6 separate regions of the Homo sapiens genome follow, and all the other regions are linked to region 1. The links are contacts of gene promoters, found by promoter capture Hi-C in human tissues and cell types (Jung and others, 2019). All regions are on one chromosome and are shown on one strand. Each heading gives the region's core, a stretch centred on a gene start or on the middle of the fragment in contact. The rest is flanking DNA. Distances are from core to core; before and after follow the strand shown.

Region 1 (3,308 bases), core at 250-2,749:
TTTATTTATATCTTTACGTTTTTATGTTTTATGTTGGAAAACACTTTTATTATTTGTATTGTGTTCATATATCTGCCTTCATTCTTATTCATATTTTTATTTATGGCAGAGTTAAATCGTACTAGAATCCTTTAAAAAATAAAGGACTTTACATTATAACAGCATTTCACGTTCCTTGGATAATCTGGGTCTCAGAAGAAGCTTGTGAAACTTACAAAGAAAGCTATAATCATCCCCTCTGTACAGTGTAACACTGGAACTCAGAAAGATTAAGTAACTTTACTAATTCAAGATCGCACAATAACTGGCAAGGGCAGGGCCCCAATCAGGCCTTCTCTTTATTCCGGCTCTCCTCCCCACAGGACGCTACCAATTTAATATTTGAATATTCATGTGCCTCTCTTCACTAAACCTGGACTGTAACTAAGAGCCATACTATTGCCGCCCAGCCCTCATCCTGGGTCTCGAAATGCAGCAGCAACACTAGTACTCTTCAGTAAACAGAAACACGAGCACACGCTTCAGTCTGGACCCCATTCAACGCTGGGTTTGCTCTACTGCACAAAACTTAAAATACACTACAGCATTCACGCCTAACCCTCAATGGAACTGTCCTTTTCACTCTGGGAAATTCAGTCACAGGTGACTCATCCCGTTAGCTTACAGTTTTGTAAATTAATAATTTTATATACCGAAAGAAAAGAATGAATTACACAGACCTCTCCCTTCCCCACCCCCAAAGTTGCTTAAGTGTCAAAGCACGGTAGTAAAGCACAAAGAAGTGGGGCTGGAGCTAGCTAGCGTTCCTCCTCTCTGCGACTCCGACGGTCCTCGGGCCACCCATCTCTCAGAGCCCGGCAGGTAGCTTCAGCCCCCCACCCCGCAGGGACCCGACGGACGGCCCGGCGCCTCCAGCGCCCAGACCCGAGCCCCGCCGGTGCTGCGGATGTGGAGGCTCGCGACGCTCGGGCTGCCCTCCTTCCCGGCGCCGCTACCTGCCTCCGGCAGCCCGCACACCTGGCGGCCCCCGCCCCAGCGCGGGGAACCGGCCCCAGAACGCGGAGGTCTAGCGCGGCCACGCGACCCCGCACAGCCCGCTTCCGCCCCAGCCCACATGGCCGCGGCGGGTGGCGCCCCCGCCCCCGCGTGAGCCCAGCGCGGTTCCCGAGGACCCAGGGACCCCAGGAGGCAGGAGGGGGCGGTGGCGACGCGGGTGGGGGGAGGAGGAAACGCGGCCGGGGGGAAGAGGAGGAGCGCGTCCCGACTCGCCGCAAGGGCGGGAGGAGCCAGCAGGGGAGAAGCGAGGAGGGGTCCCGCAGCGGCGGCATATCCGCGGGGCAGCGGGCGCCTACCTGCGAGCAGAAGTACGAGCCCTGGATGCCCAGCTTGATGCAAGTGGGACACTGGAGCTTGGCCTCACTGCTGCAGCCGTCTGTCTCGCACACCCGCGTCTCCACGGCCGCCATGCTGCCTGCCCGCTGGAAGAGCGCCTCACCGAGGAAGAGGCGGCGGCGGGAGGGAGGAACTGCCGGGCGGAGGGGAGGGGAGAGAGACCGAGTCGGGGGAGGAGCTGGGCCCGCCGCTGGCCTGGGCGCGGGAGGGGGAGGAGCCAGGGCCGGCCGGGACCACGCAGCGCGCCCCGCCCCGGCCCCGCCCCCGCCCCGCGCGCGCAGCTGGTGCCCCGCCCCGCCGGCTTCGCCCCGCCCCCCGCCGGCGGTGCCTGCGTGCCCAAGCCTCCCGGCGGCGCGCACATTGGGGCTGTAAGGGAGCTCGGCAGGGCCCCCCCATTCGGCGCCTTCGGGCGTCGGCCAGCAGAGAACGCGACCTGCCGGCGCCTGACGGTGAGGAGCCGCCCTCTCGCGGCGCACTCTCTGTGCCTACAGTCAGATAAGACAGTCGTCTTCACTGACGAACACCCAGGAGCCCTGATCATCCCCGACACCCGCAGGAGGCTAGAGAGGGCGCTGCGCTCCTCTGCGTTGGATTCCCCCGCCGCTCCTTGGAGAACAGTCCCTTGGGTTAAGTTCTGTTTCTCACTGACATTGTCGGGTCTGAGGCCTAAGGACCACCGCTCATTCACAGAAAGGAGAGCCATAGAGCTGTCAACGGGACGGTGGGCTGGGATTCACATCTGCCCTCCCTCCTGCCAGACTTTTTTTTTCCACACACCACCACCTCCCCTTCAAAACCGATAGTGCTAGTAATAGTAACACAACTGTCAGGTATTCAATACAAATAATTTTTTTGTATAATCCCAGTTGATTGCTTCAGCAGTAAATAGGGGAGAATTGTGCTGATCCTGAAATGTCAGAGTCGAAAGAAGCTGTAAAGGCCTTCCCCTGCGAACCTGTTGCTTCAATCTTTTCAGCTGTATTCCAGGTCGGTTGTGTTGTAACTCATGCTTGAGTGCCTCCTTGTCACTAGGGAAGAGCGAAAAACTAACATTTACTGATCACAAAAGGCTGTGAACTTTGTTATTGTATTTTTTTAACTTCTCCGTACTTAATACACCAGAAAAGCTCATACTACTTTTATTTTTAAGAACTTTGTTTTGGCTAGGAGCGGTGGCTGACGCCTGTAATCAATCCCAGCACTTTGAGAGGCCAGGGCATCCAGGGCACCAAGGCCAGCGGATTCTTTGAGGCCAGGAGTTCGAGACCAGGGTGGAAATATGGCAAAACCCCGTCTCTACAAAAACTAAAACTAAAAACTAAAAAATTAGCCGGGCATGGTGGCAGGCGCCTGTAGTCCCAGCTACTGAGGAGGCTGAGCTGGGAGGATCTGTTGAACCTGAGAAGTCAAGGATATGGTAAGCTATGATCCTGCCACTGCACTCCAGCCCAAACGGCAGAGCAAGACCATGTCTCAAAAAAAAAAAAACTTAGTTTTGCAATATAAGCAGTAAAAATGATGTAATAAAATCAAGTAATAGAAATGTTTACATGCATACATACATATACTTTTGTATACAAGAAAAAAATCAATAAGTATGTATGTATGTATAAAATATTTTTTAAATAAAAACTGCACCATACCATATAAAGTAATTTACTTACCTGATTTCTTCAGTTACTATGATGTCAACTTTTTGTTTGTCGTTTGGTTTTTCTTTGAGACAGCATCTCATCCTGTCAACCAGGCTGGAGTGCAGTGGTGCTCACAGTGAGAGGTGACAGCGAGGTGACAGCATGCTGGCAGCCCTCGCAGCCCTTGCTTGCTCTCGGTGCCTCCTGGCCTCAGCTCCCATTCTGGCCGTGCTTGAGGAGCCCTTCAGCCGCCGCTGCACCGTGGGAGCCCTTCTCTGGGCT
Region 2 (3,308 bases), core at 390-2,889, 500 kb after region 1:
TTGGGTTAGACACTCCTCCTGGGTGCCTCTACAGTGTCTGGTGTCTTCTTCTTGTTCTAATAATTATATTATTAATATAATAGTGATAACAGTGATTATGGCAATATACTTTTATTTAATTCTTATTATATTCGAAGCACTTCACATCGTGTTTGGATTTACTTGGATTGTTTCCATCATCCTCATAATAACCTTAGGACATAGAGTACCATTTTCACAGATACAGAAATTGAGGCTTAGGCAGATGAGGTAATCTGCCTAAGATGACACAGGTAGTAAGTGCGATCTTAGGCAGGTTACTTCATCTGCCTAAGCCTCAATTTGGCTTAGCATTGGGATTCAAGACAAGCTAGTCTGTATTAGTGTCTGTCTGTTTGTCTGTCTCCCCCATTGTCCAGGCTACCCCACTTTCTGAGTTTTGGATTTACTTGGATCCCAGGGGATATTGGAGGTGAGCCTCATTGGCTTAAGTACAGTTCAGGATGGTTTGTTCAGGAGGAGGTTGATTCTGGAATGCTCTCTCTGCCCCACTCTAGAGCAGGCTAGTCTAAGTGGCTGGAATATCAGAGTCTCCCTTGTACCACGATGGGTGCAAATGGATACATTGTTGCTTGTTGGCTCTCTAAACTTCTGTTACAATCCTATTGCCTCAGACATGGACCACTAATGTGTCTTATTTCTTCTTAGACATATACTGGTCTCTTTGCTAAGTTATGAGAGATGCTGTCTGGTACCTAGTGGATAATGGAAATCTCCTATTGCAGAATCATCTCTTAAAGGCTTCAAGTGGATATGCCAGAGTTAGTTGTCCAAAAGCTAATTTGCAGAATGGCCAATTTGTTGAATATATTTTTTTCTTTCAACTTTTTAAATTGACTGCTATTCATTTTGTCTTTATAGCAGCACTTTATGTTATGGTCAATTTGTTTTTTGCCTCTGCTGCCTGCTGCAACAACAGCTGTAGACCTCAGAGGCAGGAGAAGAGAAGATTAAGGATCCTAAGAAGAATATTGACATAGCATATAGTCTGCATACGAAGAATTCTTATGAATATATTCATTTATATCAGTTCTTACTAATAAAATTTTAATGTATTAATAAGATATATGTAGAGGAATTCTTCCCACATAGCATTCTGAATCGATCATCTTGAATATATTTTTCTCATCACCTGCAGTCTTGGTCTCTGGCTCTCTCTCATTCTGAATCTTTCTGTTTCTGCTACTACTGTTCAGAATCTCACTTTCATATGTCAACTAAAACGGATGGAAATAACTGTGTGTGGCCCGTTACTCTGCTTCTCACTCATTTATCCTTGTTCCAGTTAGGTTCAGCTTCATGGGATATTTTCTGATGTTATCTGCGAAGTCTAGTACCCTTGACATCTTTAGCCCCCAGGGCTTGCTATGCTTGTAGGATTCAGGTAGGAGAAGGATGAGAACTTCCTATGGAATATAGATGCCAAGCTCTGTGTGTGCACTTCTGGCATAAACAGGTACAGAAGAGAGTAGTCAAATAACATTTTGTATTTATTTACTTATTTATGTTTTATTACTTTTTGAGATGTGATTTCACTCTGTTGCCCAGGCTGGAGTGCAGTGATGTGATCATGGCTCACTGCAGCCTCCAACTCGTGGGCTCAAGTGATCTTTCTGCCTCAGCCTCCCAAGTAGCTAGGACTACAGGCACACACCAGTGTACCTGACTTATGTTTAAATTTTTTCTAGAGATGGGGTCTTGTTTTATTGCCCAGGCTGGTCTCAACTTCTGGCTTCAGGCAATCCCCCTACCTCGGCCTCCCAATGTATTGATTTTTTTCCGTGTTTGAGGTTTTAAAAGTTGGTATTTAAACTCAAGGGCTGAACATTCAAGTTTACATGCAGAATTGGAGGTTAAACCATGTTATGCATTATTTGTCAGTAACATAGACAAATCACCTAAAAGTTCCATAAGAGTTCCACAGAACTGCTCATTTCATTGATGATGCTGAATTCATAGTGAGTTAACATGAATGAGACTGTTTACACCGGCTTAATTACTACGTTGACTTGAAATATCAGCCAGCTGGGGAAAATGACCATTTAAAACCTGGCACATCCCTTTGCTCCCTATACCCACATTTTTTCCCAGCTTCGACCACGTGCGTGTGTCTGTGTGTCTATGTGCATGTCTGTGTGTGCGTTTACGTGCATGGAGGACTGAAGCATAGTGTATTCAAAGCTTTTGTGTTGTGCAGGACTTCGCAGATGCAAATGAAGACCCAAAGAGAACCAGCATAAGCAATCAAGGGAGTGTATCTAAGGCTCCTGGAGTGACACATAGAGCTCTAGGGCAGGCCTCAGGAACCACTGGACTGGGGATTTATAATGCTGTCTGGATTTTCCCTCCCTACTCTTGTTCTTTGTTTCTTCTTGAGCGCGGTTTTCTGCTTCTCACTGCTGTCTGACTTTCTCCACTTGGTAGGAAATATGACATGCTTCACAAGGCTCTGGAGTTTGGCATTTTAGAGTCTCAGCCACTAGAGAAAGGTGCCTGTTCTAAATCCTGGCACTTTAGGAAGGGAATCCAGGCTTCTCAGCCCTCACCAGGCCAGCAGGATTGTATGAGATCTTGGCAGCTCTGAGGGGTCATGGAGTGAAAGGAGGGGCGAAGGCATCCTTACAAGGAGGAGGTGGTGCTGTTCCCAGAAGAGGCGGGGGCCTCAGGTTCCCAGAAGACTAGGTGTCTGCTGGTGGTGTTCTTGCACATTCCTAAGGATTTACTGTGAATCTGGTGCCTGTTTTAAATTGCTTGGCAGACTTAACTGTAATCTTAGATTTTTTTTCTTACAGCTTCTTGTCAACTACAAGGTTTAATTATAATTACTCTTCAGCAGGCATATACTAGCACTTCTTACTCATCTGTCAAATTGAGCTGAATGAAATTAAAAAGTCCAGAAAGAGACCCCATCTTTAGGACAACAGAAGACTGAACAGTCAACTCCCTATCATTTTTGTAATCCAAATCACTGTTGTCAGGATTATGTTCCCCCCCACCTTTTTTTTTTTTTTTAGACAGAGTCTTGCTCTGTCACCAGGCTGGAGTGCAGTGGCTCAATCTCAGCTCACTGCAACCTCTGCCTCCTGGGTTCAAGCGATTCTCCTGCCTCAGCCTCTCGAGTAGCTGGGATTACAGGCAGGTACCACCACGTGCAGCTCATTTGTGTATTTTTAGTTGAGACTGGGTTTCACTGTGTTGGCCAGGATGGTCTCGATTTCTTGACCTCATGATCTGTCCGCCTTGGCCTCCCAATCCCTCTGTGTAGTCAA
Region 3 (3,308 bases), core at 373-2,872, 500 kb before region 1:
GAATATAATGTATTTTATCATAGGAGCTTGCTGTAGTTTAATCAGCCTACCCATAAACTAACATGAACCCACATGATAATACCATTCATTTTCTTTTGATGCCTTCCAGTTATTAAATGCAAGGCACTTGTGGTGTGGGAACCAAACATACCCATTTCTATTGAGGAGCTGAGTTGTCCATCTCAAGAATCATGAGATTCGAGTAGAGACACAGTGGGTACTGCATATCTGAGGACTAGGCTGGACCATGAGGCACCTATACCCCAGCACCGTGAAAACTTACAGAAAGGCCTCTTAAAACTTTCCACTTAAATAATACCTTTGGTTCCATGGCTGAACTTGTTGGGAATAAGCCCCCAAAATCTGGCCATAAACTGCCTCCAAAACTGGCCATAAACAAAATCTCTGTAGCACTGTGACATGTTCATGATGGCCATGGCGCCCACGCTGGAAGGCTGTGGGTTCACTGGAATGAGGGAAAGGAACACCTGGCCCACCGAGGGCGGAAAACCGCTTAAAGGCGTTCTTTTTTTTTTTTTTTTTAATTCTACTTTAAGTTTTAAGGTACATGTGCACAACATGCAGGTTTCTTACATAGGTATACATGTGCCATGTTGGTGTGCTGCACCCATTAACTCGTCACTTAGCATTAGGTATATCTCCTGATGCTATCCCTCCCCCTCCCCCCACCCCACAACAATCCCCGGTGTGTGATGTTCCCCTTCCTGTGTCCATGTGTTCTCATTGTTCAATTCCCACCTATGAGTGAGAACATGTGGTGTTTGGTTTTTTGTCCTTGCGATTGTTTGCTGAGAATGATTGTTTCCAGCTTCATCCATGTCCCTACAAAGGACATGAACTCATCATTTTCTATGGCTGCATAGTATTCCATGGTGTATATGTGCCACATTTTCTTAATCCAGTCTATCATTGTTGGACATTTGGGTTGGTTCCAGGTCTTTGCTATTGTGAATAGTGCTGCAATAAACATACGTGTGCATGTGTCTTTATAGCAGCATGATTTATAATCCTTTGGGTATATAAATCCCAGTAATGGGATGGCGGGGTCAAATGGTATTTCTAGTTCTAGATCCCTGAGGAATCACCACACCAACTTCCACAATGGTTGAACTAGTTTACAGTCCCACCAACAGTGTAAAAGTGTTCCTATTTCTCCATATCCTCTCCAGCACCTGTTGTTTCCTGACTTTTTAATGATCGCCATTCTAACTGGTGTGAGATGGTATCTCCTTGTGACTTTGATTTGCATTTCTCTGATGGCCAGTGATGATGAGCATTTTTTCATGTGTTTTTTGGCTGCCTAAATGTCTTCTTTTGAGAAGTGTCTGTTCATATCCTTCACCCACTTTTTGGTGGGGTTGTTTGTTTTTCTCTTGTAAATTTGTTGGAGTTCATTGTAGATTCTGGATATTAGCCCTTTGTCAGATGAGTAGGTTGCGAAAATTTTCTCCCATTCTGTAGGTAGCCTGTTCACTCTGATGGTGGTTTCTTTAGCTGTGCGGAAGCTCTTTAGTTTAATTAGATCCCATTTGTCAATTTTGGCTATTGTTGCCATTGATTTTGGTGTTTTAGACGTGAAGTTCTTGCCCATGCCTATGTCCTGAATGGTGTTGCCTAGGTTTTCTTCTAGGGTTTTTATGGTTTTAGGTCTAACATTTAAGTCTTTAATCCATCTTGAATTAATTTTTGTATAAGATGTAAGGAAGGTATCCAGTTTCAGCTTTCTACATATAGCTAGCCAGTTTTCCCAGCACCATTTGTTAAATAGGGAATCCTTTCCCCATTGCTTGTTTTTGTCAGGTTTGTCAAAGATCAGATGGTTGTAAATATGCAGCATTATTTCTGAGGGCTCTGTTCTGTTCCATTGATCTATATCTCTGTTTTGGTACCAGTACCATCCTGTTTTGGTTACTGTAGCCTTGTAGTATAGTTTGAAGTCAGGTAGTGTGATGCCTCCAGGTTTGTTCTTTTGGCTTAGGATTGAATTGGCCATGCGGGCTCTTTTTTGGTTCCATATGAACTTGAAAGTAGCTTTTTCCAATTCTGTGAAGAAAGTCATTAGTAGCTTGATGGGGATGGCATTGAATCTATAAATTACCTTGGGCAGTATGGCCATTCTCACGATATTGATTCTTCCTATCCATGAGCATGGAATGTTCTTCCATTTGTTTGTATCCTCTTTTATTTCCTTGAGCAGTGGTTTGTAGTTCTCCTTGAAGAGGTCCTTCATATCCCTTGTAAGTTGCATTCCTAGGTATTTTATTCTCTTGGAAGCAATTGTGAATGGGAGTTCACTCATGATTTGGCTCTCTGTTTGTCTGTTATTGGTGTATAAGAATGCTTGTGATTTTTGCACATTGATTTGTATACTGAGACTTTGCTGAAGTTGCTTATCAGCTTAAGGAGATTTTGGGCTGAGACGATGGGGTTTTCTAGATATGCAATCATGTCATCTGCAAACAGGGACAATTTGACTTCCTCTTTTACTAACTGAATGCCCTTTATTTCCTTCTCCTGCCTAATTGCCCTGGCCAGAACTTCCAACACTATGTTGAATAGGAGTGGTGAGAGAGGGCATCCCTGTCTTGTGCCAGTTTTCAAAGGGAATGCTTCCAGTTTTTGTCCATTCAGTATGATATTGGCTGTGGGTTTGTCATAAATAGCTCTTATTATTTTGAGATACGTCCCATCAATACCTAATTTATTGAGAGTTTTTAGAATGAAGGGTTGTTGAATTTTGTCAAAGGCCTTTTCTGCATGTATTGAGATAATCATGTGCTTTTTGTCTTTGGTTCTGTTTATATGCTGGATTACATGTATTGATTTGTGTATGTTGAACCAGCCTTGCATCCCAGGGATGAAGCCCACTTGATCATGGTGGATAAGCTTTTGGATGTGCTGCTGGATTCAGTTTGCCGGTATTTTATTGAGGATTTTTGCATCAATGTTCATCAAGGATATTGGTCTAAAATTATCTCTTTTGGTTGTGTCTCTGCCAGGCTTTGCTATCAGGATGATGTTGTCCTCATAAAATGAGTTAGGAAGGATTCCCTGTTTTTCCATTGATTGGAATAGTTTCAGAAGGAATGGTACCAGCTCCTCTTTGTACCTCTGGTAGAATTCAGCTGTGAATCCATCTGGTCCTGGACTTTTTTTTGTTGGTAAGCTATTAATTATTGCCTCAATTTCAGAGCCTGTTATTGGTCTATTCAGAGATTCAACATCCTCCTGGTTTAGTCTTGGGAGAGTGTATGTGTCGAGGAATTTATCCATTTCTTCTAGATTTT
Region 4 (3,308 bases), core at 528-3,027, 480 kb before region 1:
AGGTTCTAGTATTCATTTGACTAGGGACAATGTGTCTCACAGGTTAAATTTCTATTCCTCTTTAGGTATAAAAGCCCTCTCTTTCTCTGAAGCACTGTCTTCACTTTTCTTCCTTCTTCTTAATTTTAACCTTGCCTCACTCAGAAGGTAACAAGACTACTGGGTGAGATCTGAGGTGGGGGCCGCTTAACGGCCTCTCTACCTCCAGTTCTTCCCAGGCCCATCATCTCCAATGTCCCCAGTGTTGTGTTTCAAAACTAGATTTCACCTCTTGAGCGGTTTCCTCAGTTATCATCAAGATGTAAATATTGTAACAGAAATCTTTTCCCTCTCAGGAATCTTAATAAACAATAAGAGAGTTCTCCTAGTTCTCTTCTTAGGGAAAAAAATATTTCATGAGCTACTATGGCTAATGTATAAAATTGCCAAGTGCCAATGAGAGATAGCTGTTAAATGCTTTCTGTCTTTACCACTAACTTACTGAATGCATTAAGAACTCTATTGATGTGTATTTCACACACCACACAATTCACGCATTTAAAGTGGACAATTCAATGGTTTTTAGTATATCTGCAAATATGTGCAACCATCACCATAGTCAGCTATAGAACGTTTTTGTCACCTTAAATACAAACTCTGTACTCTTTAGCTACCCCCATTCCTCCTCCACTGACCAAGCCCTAAGAAATGTGCAATCTCCTATTTTGTCTCTGTAGATTTGCCTATTCTAAACATTTTGCATACATTGAATCATATGATATGTAGTCTTTGGTGTCTGTCCGGCTTCTTTCACTTAGCATGAAGGTTCATTCATGCTATAACATGTATCAGTATTTCATTTCTTTTTATGGCTGAATAATTTTCCAGTGGATACCACATTTTATTTATCCAATCATGAATTGATGAGGATTTGGATTTTTTTTTTTTTTTTTTTTACATTTTGGCTGTTGTAAATAATGCTTCTATGAATATTCACATACAAGATTCTGTGTGGACATACATTACCATTTTTCCTGGGTAACTCTGTGTTTTGTAGTTTGAGTACTGCCATACTGTTTTACACTCCTGCCAGCAGCGTAGGAGAGCTCTTATTTTGCTACATCCTCATTTTTTGATTCTTGCCACATGCTAGTGGGTGTGTAGCCAGTTTCAAAGGATGATGAAAATAGTCCCCACTAGGACAATGTCAAGCAAAACTGTGATGTCAGGGCAACCACAGAGAATCCCCACTAGGACAATGCCTAGTGGAGCTGTGGGAATGGGGCTGCTTCCAAGATGCCAGAACTGTAGAGCCACCAGCATGCATCATCAGCCTGAAAAAGCCTCAGGTATGTGACTTCAATGAATGAGAGCTGAAGCATGAACTGTTCCCAGCAAAGCCATAGGTGCAGGGCTGCCTGAAGCCTTTGGGGCCCAACCCTCACCCCAGTGTGTCTAGAAGATAGGACATGGAGTAAAAGAAGATTATTCTCAAGTCTTAAGACCTGACGTTGTTTGCTTTGTTGGGTTTTGGACCTACTTGGGACTTGTTGCTTTTCTTTTTTTCACTGTTTCTCCTTTTTGGGATGGGAATGTCCTTCCTGTAGCTGTCCCACCATTGTGTTCTGGAAGTGCATAGCTGGTTTGCTCACAGGCTCACAGTAGAAGAAAATTTAACACTGGAGCTAGTTAAGACTTCGGGGGCTATTAGGGTGGAGTGCATGTATTTTGTACGTGAGAAGGACATGAATTTTAGGGGACCAGAGGTCAAATGCTATGGTTTGAATGTGTCCTTTTCAAAATTCATGTGTTGGAAACCTAATTCCCAATGTTACAGTGTTGGGAGGTGAGAACTTTTGGGAGGTGATTAGGTCATGAGGGTGGCGCCCTCATGAATAAATTAATGTTGCTATGAAAAGGGCTTGCAAAAGTGGGTTTATTCTCTCTTATCCTTCCACACTCTGTCATGTGAGAATGCAATAAAAAGGCCCACATTAGATGCCCATATCTTGATTTTGAACTTCCCAGCCTCCAGAACTGTGAGAAATAAATTTTTGTTCTTTATAAATTACCCAGTCTCAGGCATTCTGTTATAGCAGCACAGACTAAGCCACCTTCCTTTATTTAATTATAGTTTTCTTTAGTTCTTTGATCATATTTATAATGTCTACTTTGAAGGCTTTGTGTGTTAAATTCAATGTCTGGTTGTTCTCACAGGCAATTTCTTTTGCCTGCTTTTTTTTCCAGTGTATGGGTCATAATTTCTGGTTTTATTTTTTTGCATGTCTTGTAATTTTTGAGAAATTGGACATTTTAGATAATACTGACAGAACAATCAAGTGTCTTACTACAGCTAGGAAATAGTAAGTACATGGCTCAAAACCCAGTTCTTTGATAAATTTAATCAAGAAGATAAAGGATATCTAACTTTGTTAAAAGTAAGCTTGGGCATGTGTTGTGAGAGGTTTTAATTGAAATACACCGTAGTCTTTTGTATATATTTATCCTTTCAACATTCCAGAGAGACTTTTTGATGAATGATTGCATTGTTCTCTCCAGGAGACAAAGTCATCCTTCAGTATGGAAAATCTGACCCTTGTTTGATCCCTAAAGGAAATATATGCAATCAATTCAAGTAGGTCTCTTTAATTACTAAAATTTCATCCTATACCTCCATTCATCTCTCATATGTGCTTTTATGGTTTGCTTTACTAAGCTTTGATGGTATTTGTGAAACCATGGCTGATGACACCACCAGATTTACCTGTAAAAGAAAACCAATCTACCAACTCCCTAACACAAGCACCTTCACTGAATACACAGTGTTAAGAGAAAGTGCATTTGTCAAAATTGATCCTGATGCTCCACTAGAAAAAGTATGTTTGATAGGCTGTGGATTACTTGCAGGAAGAGGGCAGGAATAAATAATGCAAAGGTAAGGATTTAGATTGGCTTTTTTCCATCACAGTCTTTTAAAGCCTCCATCATAGGCTCTTGCATTTAATGTATACAAGAAGTAAACCAAGCTCATCTCTGTGATGCCTCCTTCAGGCCATCCTGTTTAAAAAGCTCAAGGCACAAAAGAAAGGGGGGTAGGAGGAAGAGATGTATGCCCAAGACTGCCATTTTTCAGCTTTTATGGTTGCCTTCTTTTCCCCCATTCTAGGTTTAATGGTTTTATAAATTTTCACAAAATGAAAGGAAGGAACAAACACATAATGTTACAAGTCAGGCTTCCTTGTTGCTTAGCACATTTGAGAATACACAACTTAGTTTATACCACTTAGTATTTTACATTTACTTATTGCATTTTTCTTTGTTTTCTTGCA
Region 5 (3,308 bases), core at 339-2,838, 370 kb after region 1:
TTTTTATGACACCACTAGTCTGAAGATAATTTTTATCAGATCCTATAGCCTGAGGTCTTAAAACAGAACAACACTAAAGAGCCCCTCTCAGGCCTGGCTTCCTAGCAGCAGTTGGATGGGACCTTGAAGTGGTGGCTCCCTTCATGTTGGCCCTGCAGGGTCAGGCATCTAAGACTCGTGGAGGCCCAGGCAGTCTGGAGGGATACCAGATGACATAGCAAATGCCAAAAAAAAAAGATCGAGTGCTATGTTTGCCTGTGTGTGGGTGTGTTTGTTTCACAGGTACAGGTGCACCCACCCGGAGTCAGGGATGGAACATGTGCAGTGAAGGCTATATGCTTCCCAGATATTGGGGTGAACTTGATGAGAGTCTGGTGGTGGACTCAGGGACCTGGAATTGTCTTCCTCACTTTCTTGCCACTTCTCAGTGTGAATGTTGTCTGTAGGGGGTGCTCTCCTTGCTTGCCGTGGGTCTCAGAGCTACCAGAGCATTAGAATGTAGGAGATGCGCAGGCCTTGTGGACGTTTTGCCAGTCGAGCGATTCAGCAAAGTAATTGCAAGGTTTCTCTAATTGTTAAATATCTACAACAGGCTGAATTTGGATTGGCTGAAAAGAAAGGTGAAATGAGGTCATCAGAATTACATGATTTTTTTCAAGTTCTGGCATCTTGTGTTCTTTGCCAAGCAGAAATATTCCAGTAGAACTGTGATAATGCCTTTCATCTATCTGCTGAGCCTTCCAGATGGCAGTTTCTCAGCCAGTGAGCAAAAGAAAGGGTGTTGAGATTTATGAGTAAGTTGATTCCCTTCGTTTGTACTTCCCAGTGAACTCTCATTCGCTATTTGTGCTAAGCACCAGTGGCAAGTTATCCTCACATCTTTAGCTCTGCAGGGCCCTTAAGCCAGTAGGCCTTACTTCAAGGGGAGGAGGGCTTCAAATTCAGAGTAATAAATAGCTGTCTAAATAGAGCCCTTCACATACTTTCTCAGAGAACTTTTTGTGATCTAAGTGGACTTAAGTTTCTTGAGGACAGGGGCACTCCTTTCTCCTGGGTAGCACCAATGCACAGGAAGCTTGGCGTTGGATTCCGTGGGCCCCTCCCTTTCTAGTTATGTGCACAGTCTCCCGGGTTGAGAGAATCCCTCCCTTTGCTAAGTCATCTTCATTCAATCCAGGGATGTTTAGGGAATATGCGTGCCTCGGATGACAATACAAGATGGATTAAGGTGATTCTTGTGCTTTGAGAGCTCTCAGTCCAATGGAGGAAAAACATATAAATAAATACACACATAAACGAGAAGTGGTGTATAAGTCTAAAGATCAGGTAATGAGGGAATGTTTTAGAGGAGGTGGTGCTGCTGTATGTATTGGAGGCGGGTAGGGATTTGCTGAGCAGAACATGTGCCATGTTGTTTTCTCCATCAGGCCTCATGGCTGGAACAGCTGCAGTGCTTTTCGTTTGGTGCCTCCTCTGCTTTGCCTTTGTCCTGTTCTTGTTCACTTTGAGCACCCTTGCAGCCTACCCTGGGCATAACCCTCCAGGAACTCTGATGCTGTTTAGTAGATACTCAGAGGTTACCACTTAATCCTTGTTGGTTAGTTTTGTTCCCCAACTCGAGCGTGAATTCAGGACAGGGCCCATCTCTGACCACACCAAATGCAGTCAGTGCATATGTTAAGATTTAGGGAAAGCGTTTGGGTTGGTTAGTCGAGTATTTTCATAGATTATTATTACCTGGTTATGTAAGTATGACAAGACAGTTTAACAATGACACAAATATAAGCAGAGGATCTGATTAAAAATACTTTTTTTTGAAAGGGAAGCATAAGTTTGTGGTCAGCAGCAAATAACCCATTTGATCTTCATTCATTTATTCTTCCATTTATTCACTCACTAACAGTCTGTACCTTTGTGAATAGCAACAGTCTTTTTCTTCATTGGTGTTTTTTGAATGCTGGGTTTTTACTGCCCTGGGGATTTTCTTTAAACCTGATAGTTGTTTTGATAAATCATCTGGATACCAGCTTTGAGCTAATTCTTTTCTATTAAGTACCTCTTAGAGTGGCTGACCATAAACCATTTGAGAAATCACTACATTTTATTAATGACTTTTGAGATTTAGCAGCAACTTAAATTAATAATACTGGAGTGTGCTTTGGATAAAAGACCAGGAGACTGCTTCATTCTGCAAACCAGAGCAGAGATGAGAATGTTTGCATTAGGAGAACGTAATTTATCAGCATTTTAGGCTAGTGTGTCGATTGATACAAGGTTGGGCAATAGTGGTAGGCAGTGTTATAAGTGCTGTTTGTATGTATCAGCTCATTTAATCCTCCCAGTAACCCTTTAAGATGTCTGCACTATTATTTTTCACATTATTCTGATGAGGACATCGAGGCACAGAGGGGTTGTGTGACTTGCCTGCAATCTTGGTTGTGTGCTCAGAAATAGTCTTTTTGAGACTGAAGATATTCTGGTTATGTGTAATACACAGTACAACTCAAAGACTGTGAAATAGTTCATAGACAAATTATCCATTCTTTGCCACTTTAGAGTAATTATGCTTATTGTTTCTGTTTCAGGATAATATGTGTGTGTTTATAAGCATTTTTTCCTTTTTATTTAATTGCAGTAACATATACATAAATAACTATGATGGCTAGTTTTGAACTCATTTAAAAACAAGTAAATTTATGCTTTGATAAGCTAAGGTACATTCAAAGCATTCCCATTTCCAAAGCAAAGTGTTTTCAGTTAAAGATTATAGATGTTGCCTTTTGCCAGGGATGCTTGTGAGAATGTCATTTAGAGAAATCTTAAAGTAATTTATCCATAATATTAACTTAGCATGCCTTCTCTCTGCAATGTACAATGTATCATAGGACAATGTATGATACAGCTCAGTTTTGATATATCAGCAAGTTGAGTAGTAATTTTTGTTTGTTTGTTTTAGTTGTTTTAAAAGCTGGTGTTGCAGATTCCTATGCTTAGAAGGACCAGGCAGAAAATAAGCCATTAAGGGTGCTGGGAATGCAATAGGGAGTGATGGGGAGTGTGGTAAAGGGGTCAGCAATGCTTCTGCCATGCCTATCAGGGAGCTGGTTTCCATTAGCTGTTGGTTGACCCAGGAATCTGTACCTGTGTTGCCAGATCTAACCATTTTCCAGGAGAGGCTGGAACTTCATATTTAAAAAATGAGAATTTGTCAACTTTAATAATTTGGAAGAAAATTCAAATTAAACCAATACCAGGCAGTGTGGTGTACCCCACATTACAGAGGAAAGTAGGGGACTTGGGAGGTACAT
Region 6 (3,308 bases), core at 341-2,840, 310 kb after region 1:
AAGGACTAGGGCCAGAGGCCATATCAGGATAAGAACCTGCCCTGTAGTAGGAGTATGTGGGGAGAGAGATAAGCAAGGTCTGCAATGTGCAGAGCCAGAAGCAATTCTGTGGAAAATTCCTTCGAACATCAGACATGTAAACTTGTAAACAAAGAATTCAATTCTCATCAATGCCCCATCAAGACAGAAATTCTCTCCTGTTTAGGAATGTACATTATACATAATTATAAACCCAAAATACATTTTCATGAAAATCATCTAAAGTAGATTTTATCAGAATTCTTGGGTTTCTGATGCATAATCCTGTAGCAGTGAACACATCTATGTGTGAGGTTGCATGTTTTATGCATCCCATCTATCAATAATAAAACACAAATTTAGACCAACCATGCTAGAGGAAGGCTGTTTTCTATCTTTAGAAAGCTGTGTTACAAAATTGATGTTAAAGAGGTGATCAAAGAATATGCAGCCAAAATATGCAGAAAAATATATTATAAAAAGCTGTCAGAGAATTAAAAAAAAATTGGGTTCTAGATGTATGGGTATTCATAGTATTTATCATCTTTCTAATGTTTGTAATTTATTTTTTATTTCTTTTTATTCTAAATAAATATTTACTTTTGTATCTAATTTTATATTTATAATTTTATACTCTTTTTCTTAAAGAGAAGATTAAATAAACTTCAAGCCTCCCAAAAGCTAGATCCTCTCCTCCTGCATCCAATTCTAATCACTGATTACCCAAATTTGTCAATTCATGGTAAAGGCCTTCATTGCCCATTGGCAGTCTCTGGTTTGCTCGGTTATCTTTCTTTGTTTTAAATTAGAGACAGGGTCTCTGTCTGCCACCCAGGCTAGAATGCAATTGCAAGATCCCAGCTCACTATGGCCTTGAATTCTTGGACTTAACGAGATCCCCCTGCCTCAGCCTCCAGTGTAGGTAGGGCTACAGGCACATGCCACCATGGCGGGCTATTTTTTTTTTAATTTTTTGTACAGAAGGGGTCTCACTATGTTGCCCAGGCTGGTCTCAAACTCCTGACCTCAAGCAATCCTCTCACCTTGGCTTATCAAAGTACTGGGATTACAGACATGCCACCGCCTGCTTCATTATCTTTAATGTCTAAAACCACAGGGAAAATAAGAGAAAACAAACAAAACATCATGATACTTTCGAGAGTGAGATTTATATCTGAGCACGTGTCAAACATCAATTACCACCCAAGTCATTTGTAAATCTCTGCTTCCAGTGGAACCCAACTTAAGAAACATACCTGTATTGGTTTAATAGGGCTAACACAACAAAGTACCACAAACTGGGTGGCTTAACCTACAAGTGTATTGTCTCTGTCTGGAGGGCAGAAGTCGGAGATCAAGGAGTTGGCAGGGCTGGTTCCTTCTGAGGACATGAGGGAGAATCTGTTCAGTGCCTCTCTCCTAGCTTCTGGTGGTTGCTGGCAATCGGTGTTGCTTAGCTTATAGTTGCATGACCCCGATCTCTGCCTTCTCTTCACATGGCATTCACAGGGAGAACAGTCAACTGGAGTCGGGACCACTTTAATGATTTCATCTTAACTTGTCTACATCTGCACAAGCCCTGTTTCCAAATAAGGTCACATTTCTGAGGTACTAGGGCTTGAGACTTCAACATATCTTTTTTGGGGGGACACAATTCAACCCATAACAATGCCTTCATTTTTTTTGTACTTTCCTTCTATAAAAGCAAGTAATGATAGTACTCACTATTGATGAGAATACAATATGCAGTAAAGTGGTCATTCCCATTGCTATTGGAAATGTCAATTAAAACATTAGAAACAATTTAAGTTCATTTTAAGATGTAAATTCCAGAAAGTCAGGGACCTTGTCTGTTTTCCTCACCACTGTTATCTCAGCTGCAAAAACACAGCTTATCACACAACACACACTCAATGAATACTTGTTTTGAATTGATGTATTATCTTGAAATGCCTATACTAAATGGTTATGGTTTGGCATTGTTAGAATAACTAGACAGAAGAAAGTGATGTTAAATACCATACTCTTTACTAAATAGATGGGAAGTTTCCTCTCAGCCTAAGTATCTATTCAAAAGAATAATTTAGGTCTTTATAGAAATAATAGAATGTGTTTGCTGGAATTCATACAATGGTATAAAACCTATAGTTAATATTTAACTCTATAGAAAATATATGTATATTGTGTATTCAGTAAACTACAAATAGTTAAGTTTCCATTTCTGTCCCCAGTAAGGAATTGGTAAAAATGATTACCTTAGGTAAATATCTTTCACCTTTAAAAGTTCATTAAAAATTTCAAATCTCTTAGAAACCCCCAAATGAATTATCTGATCCCCTGATTAGGTTAGGTTCTCCTGTCACTCACTCTCACAGATTTCAAAACTTCTTTGTTGTTAGTACTTATCAATTTGAACTTAAATAATTTTTTTTATTGTTTTAAGGCCTAGCTTTGCTGCTATTATACAATCCATGAAAGCACACTTTTCTTGTCTTTTTCACTAAGGTAATTTAACCTCCAATATTTGCTTAGTGTCTAGCATATATTTGCTGCTCAATAAATATTTGCTACGTCAACACATAAATTACTGAAAGAATGAATGAGTGAATAAATGAATGCATGCTTGGAGTGTGAAGTCTGAGCCTGATTCCCCTGCTTTGGACTTTACCTAAGTTCTGCTGATGATCTTCCTCAAGAGCCTTGTCCTAAGGCAGTATTTTCAGGAATGTCATTTTCTTTCATTTTTCACCCTAATTTCTCTGCAGAAATTCTGTCTTTGAGTTTGCTCAAAATAATAGCCTATATCGATTTTATTGCAAAGGAGACATTGTTTTCCTTCAATAAACTCTGCAAGAATGCCTATTGCTGCTTGTTTGTTATCAGAGGAAGCTTCCCTTTCTATTTGCATGATCCTGTAGTTTTCCAGCCCTTTAATCTGGTTCTCCATGTTCCCTGGTCAGCGGCCTGTAGGTTGTGCCCACATTGTGTGGATGGAAGCTAAATTCTTCTTCTTTTGGTGGGCGAAGTAACTTACTGATTGGGGTCAGGGCTACAAAGAGATCCCCACTGGGCAAAAGAATGCATGCAGTGAAGCTTCCTTTGTAACGTTATTAGAAATTATTTTCTGGCTCCAACAGGAAAGGCTGTTTTCTAATTTAACCATTTCAGGTCCACTGTATCTGCAAAACTTTCATTTCCATTTGTAGGTAATTATAAATAATGGGATATATATTTTTATTTATTTTTATGAAAAGCTTTATATTTCTTTAAGATAGTCTACAAGTGGAGAT

What was found. Contacts are between HindIII fragments. The study calls those that stand out against the background at their distance.
Region 2: a contact is called between a fragment that was not itself captured here and the fragment with the promoter of METAP1 in region 1, in 2 of the 25 tissues and cell types used here (IMR-90 fibroblasts and spleen).
Region 3: a fragment that was not itself captured here is called in contact with the fragment with the promoter of METAP1 in region 1 in 1 of the 25 tissues and cell types used here (heart left ventricle).
Region 4: a contact is called between a fragment that was not itself captured here and the fragment with the promoter of METAP1 in region 1, in 1 of the 25 tissues and cell types used here (bladder).
Region 5: a contact is called between a fragment that was not itself captured here and the fragment with the promoter of METAP1 in region 1, in 2 of the 25 tissues and cell types used here (dorsolateral prefrontal cortex and hippocampus).
Region 6: a fragment that was not itself captured here is called in contact with the fragment with the promoter of METAP1 in region 1 in 1 of the 25 tissues and cell types used here (aorta).

Annotation. Positions count from the first base shown.
Region 1 is chr4:98,993,912-98,997,219 of GRCh38, reverse strand. It overlaps METAP1 (methionyl aminopeptidase 1), which reads right to left and starts at 1,499. Exons shown (of 11, transcript NM_015143.3): 1 at 1,353-1,499. The coding sequence starts at 1,466. RefSeq lists enhancers at 304-1,086, 2,008-2,057 and silencers at 828-1,287, 1,448-1,767. The HindIII fragment of the contact is 14,445 bases long and covers 1-3,308 here.
Region 2 is chr4:98,491,429-98,494,736 of GRCh38, reverse strand. The region is part of intron 2 of TSPAN5 (tetraspanin 5); the gene reads left to right. Among named protein-coding and RNA genes, the nearest start is that of TSPAN5, 170 kb to the left of the region's middle. The HindIII fragment of the contact is 4,595 bases long and covers 1-3,308 here.
Region 3 is chr4:99,495,499-99,498,806 of GRCh38, reverse strand. No RefSeq gene overlaps it. Among named protein-coding and RNA genes, the nearest start is that of C4orf17, 14 kb to the left of the region's middle. The HindIII fragment of the contact is 9,310 bases long and covers 1-3,308 here.
Region 4 is chr4:99,471,272-99,474,579 of GRCh38, reverse strand. No RefSeq gene overlaps it. Among named protein-coding and RNA genes, the nearest start is that of ADH7, 38 kb to the right of the region's middle. The HindIII fragment of the contact is 6,213 bases long and covers 1-3,308 here.
Region 5 is chr4:98,628,405-98,631,712 of GRCh38, reverse strand. The region is part of intron 1 of TSPAN5 (tetraspanin 5); the gene reads left to right. Among named protein-coding and RNA genes, the nearest start is that of TSPAN5, 29 kb to the left of the region's middle. The HindIII fragment of the contact is 5,638 bases long and covers 1-3,308 here.
Region 6 is chr4:98,679,613-98,682,920 of GRCh38, reverse strand. No RefSeq gene overlaps it. Among named protein-coding and RNA genes, the nearest start is that of TSPAN5-DT, 22 kb to the right of the region's middle. RefSeq lists a cis regulatory region at 1-265. The HindIII fragment of the contact is 4,437 bases long and covers 1-3,308 here.